Regions from separate parts of the Homo sapiens genome. Here all the other regions are linked to region 2. Evidence: promoter capture Hi-C in human tissues and cell types (Jung and others, 2019). All regions are on one chromosome and are shown on one strand. Each heading gives the region's core, a stretch centred on a gene start or on the middle of the fragment in contact. The rest is flanking DNA. Distances are from core to core; before and after follow the strand shown. Region 1 overlaps HEATR4 (HEAT repeat containing 4). Region 2 holds the start of ALDH6A1 (aldehyde dehydrogenase 6 family member A1). Region 3 holds the start of NUMB (NUMB endocytic adaptor protein).

The links. The method cuts DNA at HindIII sites, captures the fragments that hold promoters and counts their contacts. A contact is called where the count stands out against the background at its distance.
Region 1: a fragment that was not itself captured here is called in contact with the fragment with the promoter of ALDH6A1 in region 2 in 1 of the 25 tissues and cell types used here (spleen).
Region 3: a fragment that was not itself captured here is called in contact with the fragment with the promoter of ALDH6A1 in region 2 in 1 of the 25 tissues and cell types used here (stomach).

The regions. Positions count from the first base shown.
Region 1 is chr14:73,496,994-73,500,635 of GRCh38, reverse strand. It overlaps HEATR4 (HEAT repeat containing 4), which reads left to right. Exons shown (of 18, transcript NM_001220484.1): 12 at 1-86; 13 at 1,496-1,565; 14 at 2,292-2,481. It also overlaps a transcript of ACOT1 not described here. Among named protein-coding and RNA genes, the nearest start is that of RIOX1, 7.9 kb to the right of the region's middle. The HindIII fragment of the contact is 3,819 bases long and covers 384-3,642 here.
Region 2 is chr14:74,082,005-74,085,702 of GRCh38, reverse strand. It overlaps ALDH6A1 (aldehyde dehydrogenase 6 family member A1), which reads left to right and starts at 1,250. Exons shown (of 12, transcript NM_005589.4): 1 at 1,250-1,356. The coding sequence starts at 1,309. It overlaps LIN52 (lin-52 DREAM MuvB core complex component), which reads right to left and starts at 747. Exons shown (of 6, transcript NM_001024674.3): 1 at 710-747. The coding sequence starts at 728. It also overlaps a transcript of BBOF1 not described here. RefSeq lists an enhancer at 659-838. The HindIII fragment of the contact is 23,259 bases long and covers 1-3,698 here.
Region 3 is chr14:73,457,799-73,461,656 of GRCh38, reverse strand. It overlaps NUMB (NUMB endocytic adaptor protein), which reads left to right and starts at 3,111. Exons shown (of 13, transcript NM_001005743.2): 1 at 3,111-3,164. LOC101928143 (a long non-coding RNA gene) reads left to right here. Exons shown (of 3, transcript NR_135251.1): 3 at 393-722. RefSeq lists enhancers at 1,715-2,248, 2,249-2,782 and silencers at 2,768-2,967, 3,158-3,247, 3,258-3,387. The HindIII fragment of the contact is 4,625 bases long and covers 171-3,858 here.

The DNA.
Region 1 (3,642 bases), core at 1,044-3,543, 590 kb after region 2:
TCCTGCACTGCTTCTCTGATGACTTCACAGCAGTTCGGCGGGCAGCCTGTTTGGCAGCTGGTGCCCTGCAGATCCGCGACAAGATGGTGAGTCAGGGAAACATATTCTCATCTTACCTGATTGACCTGAAGAGGGCATTACCTTCCCTGGTTGTGCACAGTATGCTCAACATTCTGTGGGGACACAGAATGAGAGATTGGAACTGGGAAGGGGGTGTATAAGCCACTTCAAACAGGACTGTTTCAGGGGCATCCAATCTTTTGGCTTCCCTGGGCCACAATGGAAGAATTGTCTTGGGCCACATATAAAGTACACTAACACTAACGATAGTTGATGAGCTAAAAAAAAAAAAAAAAGGTCCGTGCATAATTCTCATGGTTTTTTTGTTTGTTTGTTTGTTTGTTTTGAGACGGAGTCTCGCTCTGTGACCCAAGCTGGAGTGCAGTGGCGCCATCTCGGCTCACTGCAAGCTCCGCCTCCCAGGTTCACGCCATTCTCCTGCCTCAGCCTCCTGTGTAGCTGGGACTACAGGCACCTGCCACCACACCTGGCTAATTTTTTTGTGTTTTTAGTAAAGATGGGGTTTCACCGTGTTAGCCAGGATGGTCTCGATGTCCTGACTTCGTGATCCGCCCGCCTCGGCCTCCCAAAGTGCTGGGATTACAGGCGTGAGCCACCGCGCCTGGCATAAATCTCATGTTTTAAGAAAGTTTACAAATTTGTGTTGGGCCGCATTCCAAGTTGTCCTAGGCCACATGTTGGACAAGCTTGGTTTAGCTCCCAGCCAGCCCAGACTTCGATTCTAGAGCACACCCCTGAATCCTGTTCTCACCTCAGTTAACTAGCTTCTCATTACCTGGGTGCTGATGGGCTTTAGGATCAACTCCCATAAATGGAGTTATAATTCCATTATTAGGGAAAAATCTGTTTGAAGTGTTCAAGAGAAGCCATATGGCCCCAGATCTGTAGACTGAGAAAATCAATAGCAGATAATTCAGCTAATGTACTCACTATGCATATAGGTTGGTACTTTAGGCTCCAGCTCATTTGTCACCAGAATTGATAGGTCATTTTTCAATTATAGCTCCTTTTAGAGATAAGTGGTTTCCCTGTTTCTGATTCATTCTTTTGCTTTGTTTTGTTTTTTTGCTTTTTTGAGATGGAGACTCGCTCTGTCACCCAGGCTGGAGTACAGTGGCACGATCTCAGCTCACTACAACCTCCGCCTCCCAGGTCCAAGCAATTCTCCTACCTCAGCCTCCGAGTAGCTGGGATTACAGGCGTGTGACACCATGCCCGGCTAATTTTTGTATTTTTAGTAGAGACAGGGTTTCACCATGTTGGCCAGGCTGGTCTCAAACTCCTGATGTCAAGTGATCCGCCCACCTTGGCATCCCAAAATGCTGGGATTACAGGGGTGCACCACCGCACCCAGCTGTTTCTGGTTCATTCTTGCTCTGGTCCTCCCCACTCAACACTGCCTTTTCCATCCCAGGTGCTTGAATGCCTCCTGAACCTGATGCAGAGAGATCCTTACTGGAAAATCAAGGCCTTTGCCATTCGAGGTATTATAGAAGTAGTGCCCCAAACTCTTCAACCTTAAATACCTTTGCCTATGCAAGTAGAAATGATCCCCTGAAACTCTCTAATGGGGTGAAGTGCAGGAGAGGTAATGATCTTAGCTTTTCAGAAGTTCCTTGTCTGAAAAGAGAAAGATAATTTTCTTCAATTTTTAGTGAAAGATCCTGAGTCTAGGTATATGTCAAACTTAAGTTAAAGAAAGGGCTGACAAGACAGTCCCTGCCAACAGAATTAAGGATAAGTTCCAAGTAGGTATCCAGTGCTGGATGCATCTTGCTTTCCTTGGAGATCTCAACTATTACGCTCTGCAAAAGTCAGATCAGTTTCAAGACTGCTACAGACCTAAAACCCTGCCCCTTAATCTGCCTAGTTTCTTTTTAGAATCTTTGGCATTGCTTCTCTTTTTGACATAGATAAATAATTGTGCCTCCTTTCCCCATCACCCTGCTGGGACTAGGCAGGTCTTCCATGTTATTTGTTCTATATTTCATCCCAAAATAGGCAAATATCCTAACAGGCAAGGATGGGATGGAACATCCCTCTTCTAGGAATCCTTTGGAGGTAATGTCCCATTCTGACCTATCCCTAAAATTCTAATGGTGATTACCATCCAAAAGGGAAGGTATTGTTTGCAAAACTCAATTTATTTCTGGATGCTAGAATATAGTAAGCTCAGTCTTCAGTGACATGCTGCCCTCTAATCTCTGCAGCTTTGGGACAGATTGGGCAAGTAAGTCCCGAGCTGACGGATCTTCTGCTCTGGGCTATCCACTATGAAGAGTCACCAGGTGTACGGCTGGAAGCTTGCCGTAGCATCCTAGCCCTGAAACTTCAAGGGGACCGGGTCAGGGACACCTTCCTAGACGTGCTGCTCCTGGAGAACCACGATGCTGTTCTAAAGTAAGCACTAAACCTCTGGCTCCCACCATGACCTTATACTGCCAACTCTCACATCTTTGCTCATTGAATATGTCCCTGCCTTTCCAGGCTACCTAATGGCAGTAAAAGCACTGGTTCACCTGCACATTCACCACTCACCCAAGTAGGTAACTGAAAAACTGGCCTAAATTAGATTGAAAGTCAAGCTTATGTAGTTCATGCATCTTTTCTCCCCACCAGGATGGGTTTTGGCCGGGTGTGATGACTCACGCCTGTAATCCCAGCACTTTGGGAGGCTGAGGCAGGAGGATCACCTGAGGTCGGGAGTTTGAGACCAGCCTGACCAAAATGGAGAAACCCTGTCTCTACTAAAAATACAAAATTAGCCAGGCATGGTGGCACATGCCTGTAATCCCAGCTACTAGGGAGGCTGAGGCAGGAGAATCACTTGAACCTGGGAAGTGGAGGTTGCGGTGAGCCGAGATGGTGCCATTGCACTCCAGCCTGGGCAACAAGAGCAAAACTCCGTCTCAAAAAAAAAAAGGATGGGTTTTAAGTTATTCATATATTCAACTAACATTTATCAAATGCCTATTGGGACAACAAGTTTTAGAGTCAAAAAGACCAGGGTTTGAATTCCAGCTCTGGCATGCAATAGCTATGTGAGCCCGTGTAAGGTATTTAAACTCTGTGAGCCCATTTTTTTCATGTATCAAATGCAGGTGATAGTCTACATTATAGGGTTGTGGTGATAATTAATGAGATGACATGTTTAGCGCCTGTCATAAAGGTGTTCAGTAAATGGTACCTATTGGCACCTTCAAATATATTGTCTTGGCCAGATGAGGTGGCTCACATCTGTAATCCCAACACTTTGGGAGGCTGAGGCAGATGGATCACCTGAGGTCAGGAGTTCTAGACCAGCCTGGCCAACATGGTGAAACCTGTCTCTACTAAAAATACAAAAATTAGACGGGCATGGCCGGGTGCAGTGGCTCACACCTGTAGCCCCAACACTTTGGGAGGCCAAGGCGGGTGGATCACCTGAGGTCAGGAGTTCTAGACCAGCCTGGCCAACATGGTGAAACCCCATCTCTACTAAAAATACAAAAACTAGCTGGGCATGATGGCACGCGCCTGTAGTCCCAGCAACTCAGGAGGCTGAGGCAGGAGAATCGCTTG
Region 2 (3,698 bases), core at 1-2,500:
ACTTGAAATGACTTGCATTTTACACAATATATAAACAGAAATCGTTAATTCACTCAGCCTTAAGAAACAACACGTAAAGCAGATGGAAGACAGGTTGCGACCTGTGCAAGACGACACTTAAAAGCTCAATACTGATTCTCCTCGCGACTCTCAGGGCGAGGGGCCGAGAACGTCCCCCGCTTCTCTTGCTGCCACGGCAATGGTCCCAAACTGAGGAGACAGGAGAGAGATCATGTTTCTCTTGCGGTTCAGTATCGAGATGAGGTCAGCCAGCAGCCCTGCGAGGGTTTGTGAGAATCATTCCATCCGTGCGCTCAATCAGAAGAGAACTGATCCTTTCAATGGGTACCCCAAGGAAAAAACTACAGTAAGCCACGTCCTCCAGAAACATCTCCTCCTCGACCCTCAGCCTCGCCCAAATAGAGATAAGGAAGGCACAGGGCGACCCCCCTGTCCTTTTACCCAGAATGAGTCCCTCCCTAGTGCCCTCCTCCACACGCCTGGTACAGAGCGGGGAAACTGGGCACCTCCGGAGCTGCTGTGAAGAACCGGTGAGCTGAAGACGGCGATGGATCTCAAGAAAAAAAATAAAAGGGAAAGGAGAAGAGCCCAAGAAAGAAATGTATGTTCGAGGGGCAGAGACAGAGTGGATGTTCCCAGTAGAGCAAAGAAGGAGGCTGCAGGCAAAGATCTCTAAGCCGGCTCTTACCGTCTGTGGGAGACGCCATCTTCCAACCCATGTCACGTGACGTGGCCAACCGTCGGCGGGAAAACGAGGTTCCATAAGCCACGCCCCCAAAGAGAAACCCTATCCCCAACTCGCAGCCCAGTCTCATTCCCTCGCCTCATAGGGCAATCTTTGCCTAGCCCCGCCCCTAAGTATAGCCACGCCCCTTACGCGGATGTTGAGGTGGAGCGACTGCAAAATTCTTGAAGGGTCTTATTTACTTTTTTCAGTGGGGGGGTGGGGCCTCGGTTCCGCCCTTGGCCAATCGGAGTTCCAGGTTAGGGGGGCGTCTTCCCCGTGTGCTCGGTAGGGAGTGTCCAAGTCAGGGGCGTCTTCTCTACCTCCGCCTACGTCATTGGCTGAGGTGGCAGAGGGCGAGAGCATTTTCGCTCCTAACCAATCACTTATCCCCAGGACGGGGGTGTGAGGAGAGGAATCAGGTGTTCGGACCAGTGATTGGCTGGAGAAAATAGTCCTCCCCACCAATGAGGAAGCCTGGCAGGATGGAGGGCGAGGCCTGGCAGCTGTAGTGCTTCTGGGCAGTAGAGGCGCGGGGTGCGGAGCTAGGGCGGCCGAGAGCCATGGCGGCGCTATTGGCGGCGGCGGCAGTGCGAGCCCGGATCCTGCAGGCGAGTGAGGGTGGTGCCAAGGCACCATGAAGCTAGGAATTGGATCCTTTCCGTCCGCTCCCTGAGCCATCCTCGGGCGGGACCACCTTCTTGGCCCAACCCCTTTTTGGCCAGACCTCCTACCCGACCTGTGCGGCCCTGTCCCATGCCCAGCCCTCACTTCATAACCTCCCTGGTCCCGGATCCAACCCTGGGCTGTTACCCTTGGCCCTCTACCCTTTTACTCCTAAGCCTCCTCTTTTCTGGCTCTCGCCCACTCTCCTTCTCCAGCTCTGCCCGCTCCCTGCTGTCACTCTCTTGCCCTCATCTCTCCATCCGCCCACCGTCTTTCCTTTTTACCTCTGCACCAGCCTTCTCTCTCTCCCCCAGAAACTACTCTTTTTGGTTACTCTGTCCCCTGCCGTGAGCGTCCACTTTGCCATTGCTCCCTTCCCCCACCCTACTTCACTATCCGTGGTGATCTGAGGTAAGGGGGAGGGGGGACGCGAGGGGCGAGGGTCAGTGTATGAACTTTGAATTTCCTTCTAGAGGTGGACTCTAGATTTTCACCAAAGGCAGCCATTTGCTAAGCTATTTTCCCTAAGTGTGGCTCTTTGTATTTTCCATGGACTGGCTGTCCCCTTTCTTGCCAAAACTTTGAGTTAAACTTTTTCTCAGCTAAGTTACAGTTTACATAGATAGGGCACATCTACATAGATAGGGTAGATAAGGGCACACAGTTAAAGCTACCAGTATGTTCCATGTATGTTCAAGGTACCAAACATCTTTAAAACGGGTGATAGAAAGTGGGAGCCAGGTAAGACAAGAAGTCTAAGTTCCCACCCCAAAATCAGCTCTTCTAGTGCTACACACCCTCATCTCTGCACTTGGGGGATTGAGTCCTCTCTGAAGCCAACCTAAGGAGAAATGGTAAAGCTACAGGAGTTGCATGCCTGAGGCCTGTAATCTCCAACTCTGTTTATAGTCTTTCCCCTGTTCATGGCCTACCAAGGATTTAGAGTATGTGGCAAGATTTACCGCAGGCAAGAAACAGTCTGCAAGAAACAACAGTGCCGTTCTTATTCATTACATCCAGTCTGAGAATTTCCTCTATATTGCTGAGCTTTTAGGTAATATTAGTATTCACCAGGTTTCCGTGAGTTCTAGTAAAGAAACTTGGGCAGTTTTAAGATTCTTGGCAGAGTCAGCAAAGATTCATTTTTAAATATGCTATTTAATGGGGAAGGTAGAAAGGATGAGTTTGAAGGGTTTGGCAGATGGTCTGGCCTCACTCATATTTCTTGCTGCGATCCTTGTTCTGTTCTAGTATCTTTTTTTAGTAGCAGGAAAACAAAGTTTCCACCCTATATTTTTCTTACCAACTTCTTGAAATCTTTTACTGAAATTGGCTTTTTTCCTTTGCCTCCTCTTCCCCTCCCATCACAATGAGTCATTGAGAACCTTAAGAAAGTATTTTGTCCTTTTCCATCAAGGAGAAGAATCTCTCTTTCCATGTACTTTTATTTCAGAAACAGACACTATGTATTTTCTGATTCATTTGGAGAAACTTCTGAAGTGACCTGGAAAAGAACAGATAGAGTAATCCTCAGCCAACTAGGAGTTGTAACGTGAATCTTTGATTAAAAGTTCGATAAAAAGTAGCCTACGGGCCAGGCGCTGTAGCTCCTGCCTGTAATCCCTGCACTTTGGGAGGCCAAGGTGGGTGGATCACCTGAGGTCAGGAGTTCGAGACCAGCCTGACCAACATGGTAAAACCCCTTCTCTACTAAAAATACAAAAATTAGCCGGGTGTGGTGGCGGGCGACTGTAATCCCAGCTACTCAGGAAGTTGAGGCAGGAGAATCGCTTGAACCCGGAAGACGGAGGTTGCAGTGAGCTGAGATCGTGCCATTGCACTCCAGCCTGGGCGACAGAGCAAGACTCCATCAAAAAAAAAAAAAAAAAAAAAAAAAACCTCGATTTTGGCAGCCATGAATATTAGAGAACTATCAAAAGGATTTATAGAGGAGAAAGTTAATGTTTTCAATTATTTTAAGTATTCAGCTTATTTTTCTCTGCCACGAAGAGTAGTCAAACTTAACCTAAAACCTCTCTCTGCTCCTTGTGATATTATCACTCCCATGCAGAGATAAAGGAATGTTCGAGACAGGGTCTCGCTCTGTCACCCAGGCTGGAGTGCAGTGGTGCAATCACAACTCACAGCAGCCTCGACCTCCCACGCTGAAGTGATTCTTCCATCTCAGCCCTCCGAGTAGCTGCAACAACAGATCGTGCCCCCATGCCAGCTAATTTTTGTATTTTTTGTAGAGACAGGGTTTCACCATGTTGCCCAGGCTGGTCTT
Region 3 (3,858 bases), core at 1,234-3,733, 630 kb after region 2:
CAGGAAGCTGCAGACTCCCAGACTCCAGTGTTCTTGTTTTCTGAGAGGGAGCCCTGAGAATGGTAGAGAAGCAAAAAACACAGGAAAGAAAAGAAAAAAGCTGGATGGAGTAATTACATGATAGGGTTACCTTGTGCACGTGAAAGCAAAATGTAGGGATACAAGCAATAACCCCTCCGGTACTGCACAGTCTTTGATAACACAATAGCCTTCTGTTATTTCAAGGCATGTTCCTTGAAACCTTCCTTAAGGTTTTCCCACTACTTACTGGGTTGTAACATATTTATTTTATATGTCCTTTCTTAACTGATATTCACAAAGAATAGGAATGATAGATGTGTGTATATGAGCAAAAGCATTTATACATGCTTTCTTTTTTTTTTTTTTTTTAGTGTATGAAATAGCGGCTGACTTTTGTGACAATTTTCCACCCAGTTTTGTGATAGTAATTTCGCTGCATTCTTCAACTTAGATGGCAAGTCCTCTTAGCAAGGCTGGCCTAATTCTATGTTTTCTATGGCACCTAGTCACTATGGCTGTGCAAGAGCCATTATTACCCAAAGTACCATAATAATGGTCATGTCCTCCTATGACGTTATTGTTTCCTATCTGTCAGGACATTAATTGTCTTCTAACTTGCTCTAAAATTGGTAGCATGGCACACTGCCAAGACTAGAGAGAAGCAAGCTGCTGGTGATATATTAAAAGGCTGTGTAAAAGGACATATTGGTATTTGCTTTTTCTTGGGGCATCTTCACATTTGCATTACTTCACATGTTATGGGATGTTAGCTCAGGCTTGCCTTATGTCTTGGCGTCTATCTTATCATGGTCAATGTCTGATCTTTCCTTCAGCTGAATGATTCAGACATCTCTAAGTTATTTTGGCTTTTCCACTTTCCTTTCACAGGCTTTTTGTGAGTCATTGAATTGAATGGGAGGTTATTTCTAAATTGGAAGGTGAGGAAGAGAGGAGGGGGAGGAAAGTTCCGGAAAATAACTAGGAAAAGGCACTTTATTGTTATGTATAGTTACTGGAGGAATAATTTCTGCTTAGTCTGGTGATAGAAGTATGTACTTTATTTAAACTTGACTAAAAATATAGGCTAGAAAAAAGACAATATTTTTCTGAATAATAAACCATACAGTTTTAGACTCTTTGTAGCTTGCTCTGCAAAGAACAAGGAGGTTAGTAAATAGAAGAAATATGAGACAAAGGGTTAGCAGAAAGAAGAAAGAGACAAAGCACATTTCCAAAGTCCACATCCTTGAGGTGAATGCCTCCTTGACAGTGTCTTTTTTTTTTTTTTTTTTTAAGACAGAGTCTCACTCTGTTGCCCAGGCTGGAGTGCAGTGGCACCATCTGCAGAGACAGGGGTTTCACCATGTTAGTCAGGCTGGTCTCAAACTCCTGACCTCAGGTGATCTGCCCGGCTCGGCCTCCCAGAGTGCTGGGATAACAGGCATGAGCCACCGCACGGCCTGACAGTGTCTTAAACTATCCCTGGGTGTTGTTTCATGGCCCATGGGTATATGTATCATAGGTGGGGTTGTGAGAAAGTACATTTAAATCTGATTTAGAAACTGAAAGAGTAATCAGACCAGCATTTTGTTATTTAGGAGCAGGAAAAGTGGGTGAAAAAAAAGGAAAAACAAAAAGCTAATGATGAATATATTTCTAGGAGCACAAGAGTTTTTATAGCAACATTAGATTTCTCAAAAATGCCTACTGTGATTTGTACCCAAGTGAATAAAAAATGCAATCATTTATTCTTGTGCATTGTGCCAAGTGAGGAAAAAAAAAAAACACACACACACACAACCCGGCAATTCATTCAATGGCCCTAATTTAGACTGCTAGGAAGAGGTTTAGAAAAAAAAAAGAGAGAGAGAGAGAGAAGCTTTTAAAGTATCTGACACACAGCTAGTAGGGCTATTTAAGAACTGCTGAACAGAAAAACAAAGTGGCAGTGAGAGGTGGGGGAAAGCAGAATTCTCATTTCCAGAGCATCATAAAGGGTATAATGTGGCCCGCTTATTAGAAAGTTGCTGGCCGGGCGCGGTGGCTTACGCCTGTAATACCAGCACTTTGGGAGGCCGAGGCGGGCGGATCACCTGAGGTTGGGAGTTCGAGACTAGCCTGACCAACATGGAGAAACCCCGTCTCATGCCTATAATCCCAGCTACTCGGGAGGCTAAGGCAGAAGAATCGCTTGAACCTGGGAGGCGTAGGTTGCGATGAGCCGAGATAGCACCATTGCACTCCAGCCTGGGCAACAAGAGAGAAACTCCGTCTCACAGAAAAAAAAAAAAAAAAAAAAAGTTGCTAATGGCTGTCTGGTCAATTGGCAGGGGTCAGCCAGGAGTGGATCTGGAAGCTGGAGAACTCTCAATACGCCACTTCAGTTTATTGACGACATTTATAATTGCAACCGAAGTTGACTGATTTCTGCTAAATGAAAGTTTGCGCTTTGCCCTTTAGCATTGAGGCTCCTGGAAAGAACTTCAATGAAATTGGATGCATTGAGACCAAAGAAAAGAAGGGGACATTTTTATCTCTCTGATACCTTTCTCCCCAGGGCTTGGAAACACTTCTTAAACACAACCTCTAATGTTGGTGTTTTGTAAGTACTACCCCTATGAATAAAGCTAGCAGAGATAAGCTTCTCCTTGCAGGAAGTGAGCTGGAGAAGTGGAAAAGTTTACAGAGAAAACTCTACAACAAAGACTTAACCCTTCCCGGGTAACCACGAATGTGAGCGTCTGCCCCTCCTTTGCTTTCTACTGCGCAACCAAACTGTGCACAAGCGTGAATCAACCTTAACCGTCACGTCTCTTGCCAGTTAGCTTAACAGACACTTTTAGCAGCCTATCATAACTTCGAATTGCCCAACCCTCAACCAATTACAACTAAAGCTTGGGCTAGGACGCTCCAGGTCCGGGCGGGGGCGAATACCGGGTTTAGGAAAAGGGGCGGTAAAGAGCGATGACGGGCGGGTATACTAAACCAATCAGAGAGGAGAGCTGCCGCCCCACTATCCAATGGATAGGTTAGAAGTATGAAAGAGGGTGGGCCTGTTGTCATGGGGGAGGTGGTGGCGCTTGGTGGCCACTGGCGGCCGAGGTAGAGGCAGTGGCGCTTGAGTTGGTCGGGGGCAGCGGCAGGTGAGTGCCGGTAACGCGGGTCAGAGATCTGGGGGCCGTCGCGGGGCGGAATCTCCAGCTCAGCACTCCGGAGGCGGAGGCCGGAGGAAGGGGGCCTGGACTTCGGGTCGGGGCCCGGGCCGGGGCCGGGGCCAGGGCGGAGGCGGCGGGGGCGGCGGCGAGTTCGCGCTGACTGGGCTAGGGGGAGAGGGGCTGGGCTTCTGGCTGCGGAGTTCTCCCGAGGAAGGTAGGCTACGGCCGGACCCGCGCGGGTCAGGCCAGGAGGTCCCTTGGGACGTCCAGCTGCTCCGGTCTAGCGCGCTGACCGGCGGCCACTGTGTGAGGAGTAGGTATCTGAGGAAACGGAAGCGGCCAGGGTCCCAGAGAGGGGGTGACCTGTAACGACCTGCTTCAAGGGCGGGGTGTCTTGGGAATACCCAGGACGGCTTGGGTGCCAGGGAGAAAAGGAATCCGGGAAGCCCGGCAGCGGCCGGTGAGGAGAGAGCGGGGTGGGGGGCAGGGGAACTGGGAGTGGCCCCGGTCCGAGGGAGGTAGGAAGGCCGAGGGTGGCCAGGGTCCCGGGTGACAGGGAGCAGACTTGCTCCAAGTAGGGGCGTCTGAGGAAACGCTCGGAGGGGGTTGGGGACCCTCCTGAGAAAAGCGGCTGTCCAAGGGAGGGGGCTCCTGGAGAGATGAGGAGCAGCAGGTCTTCGGA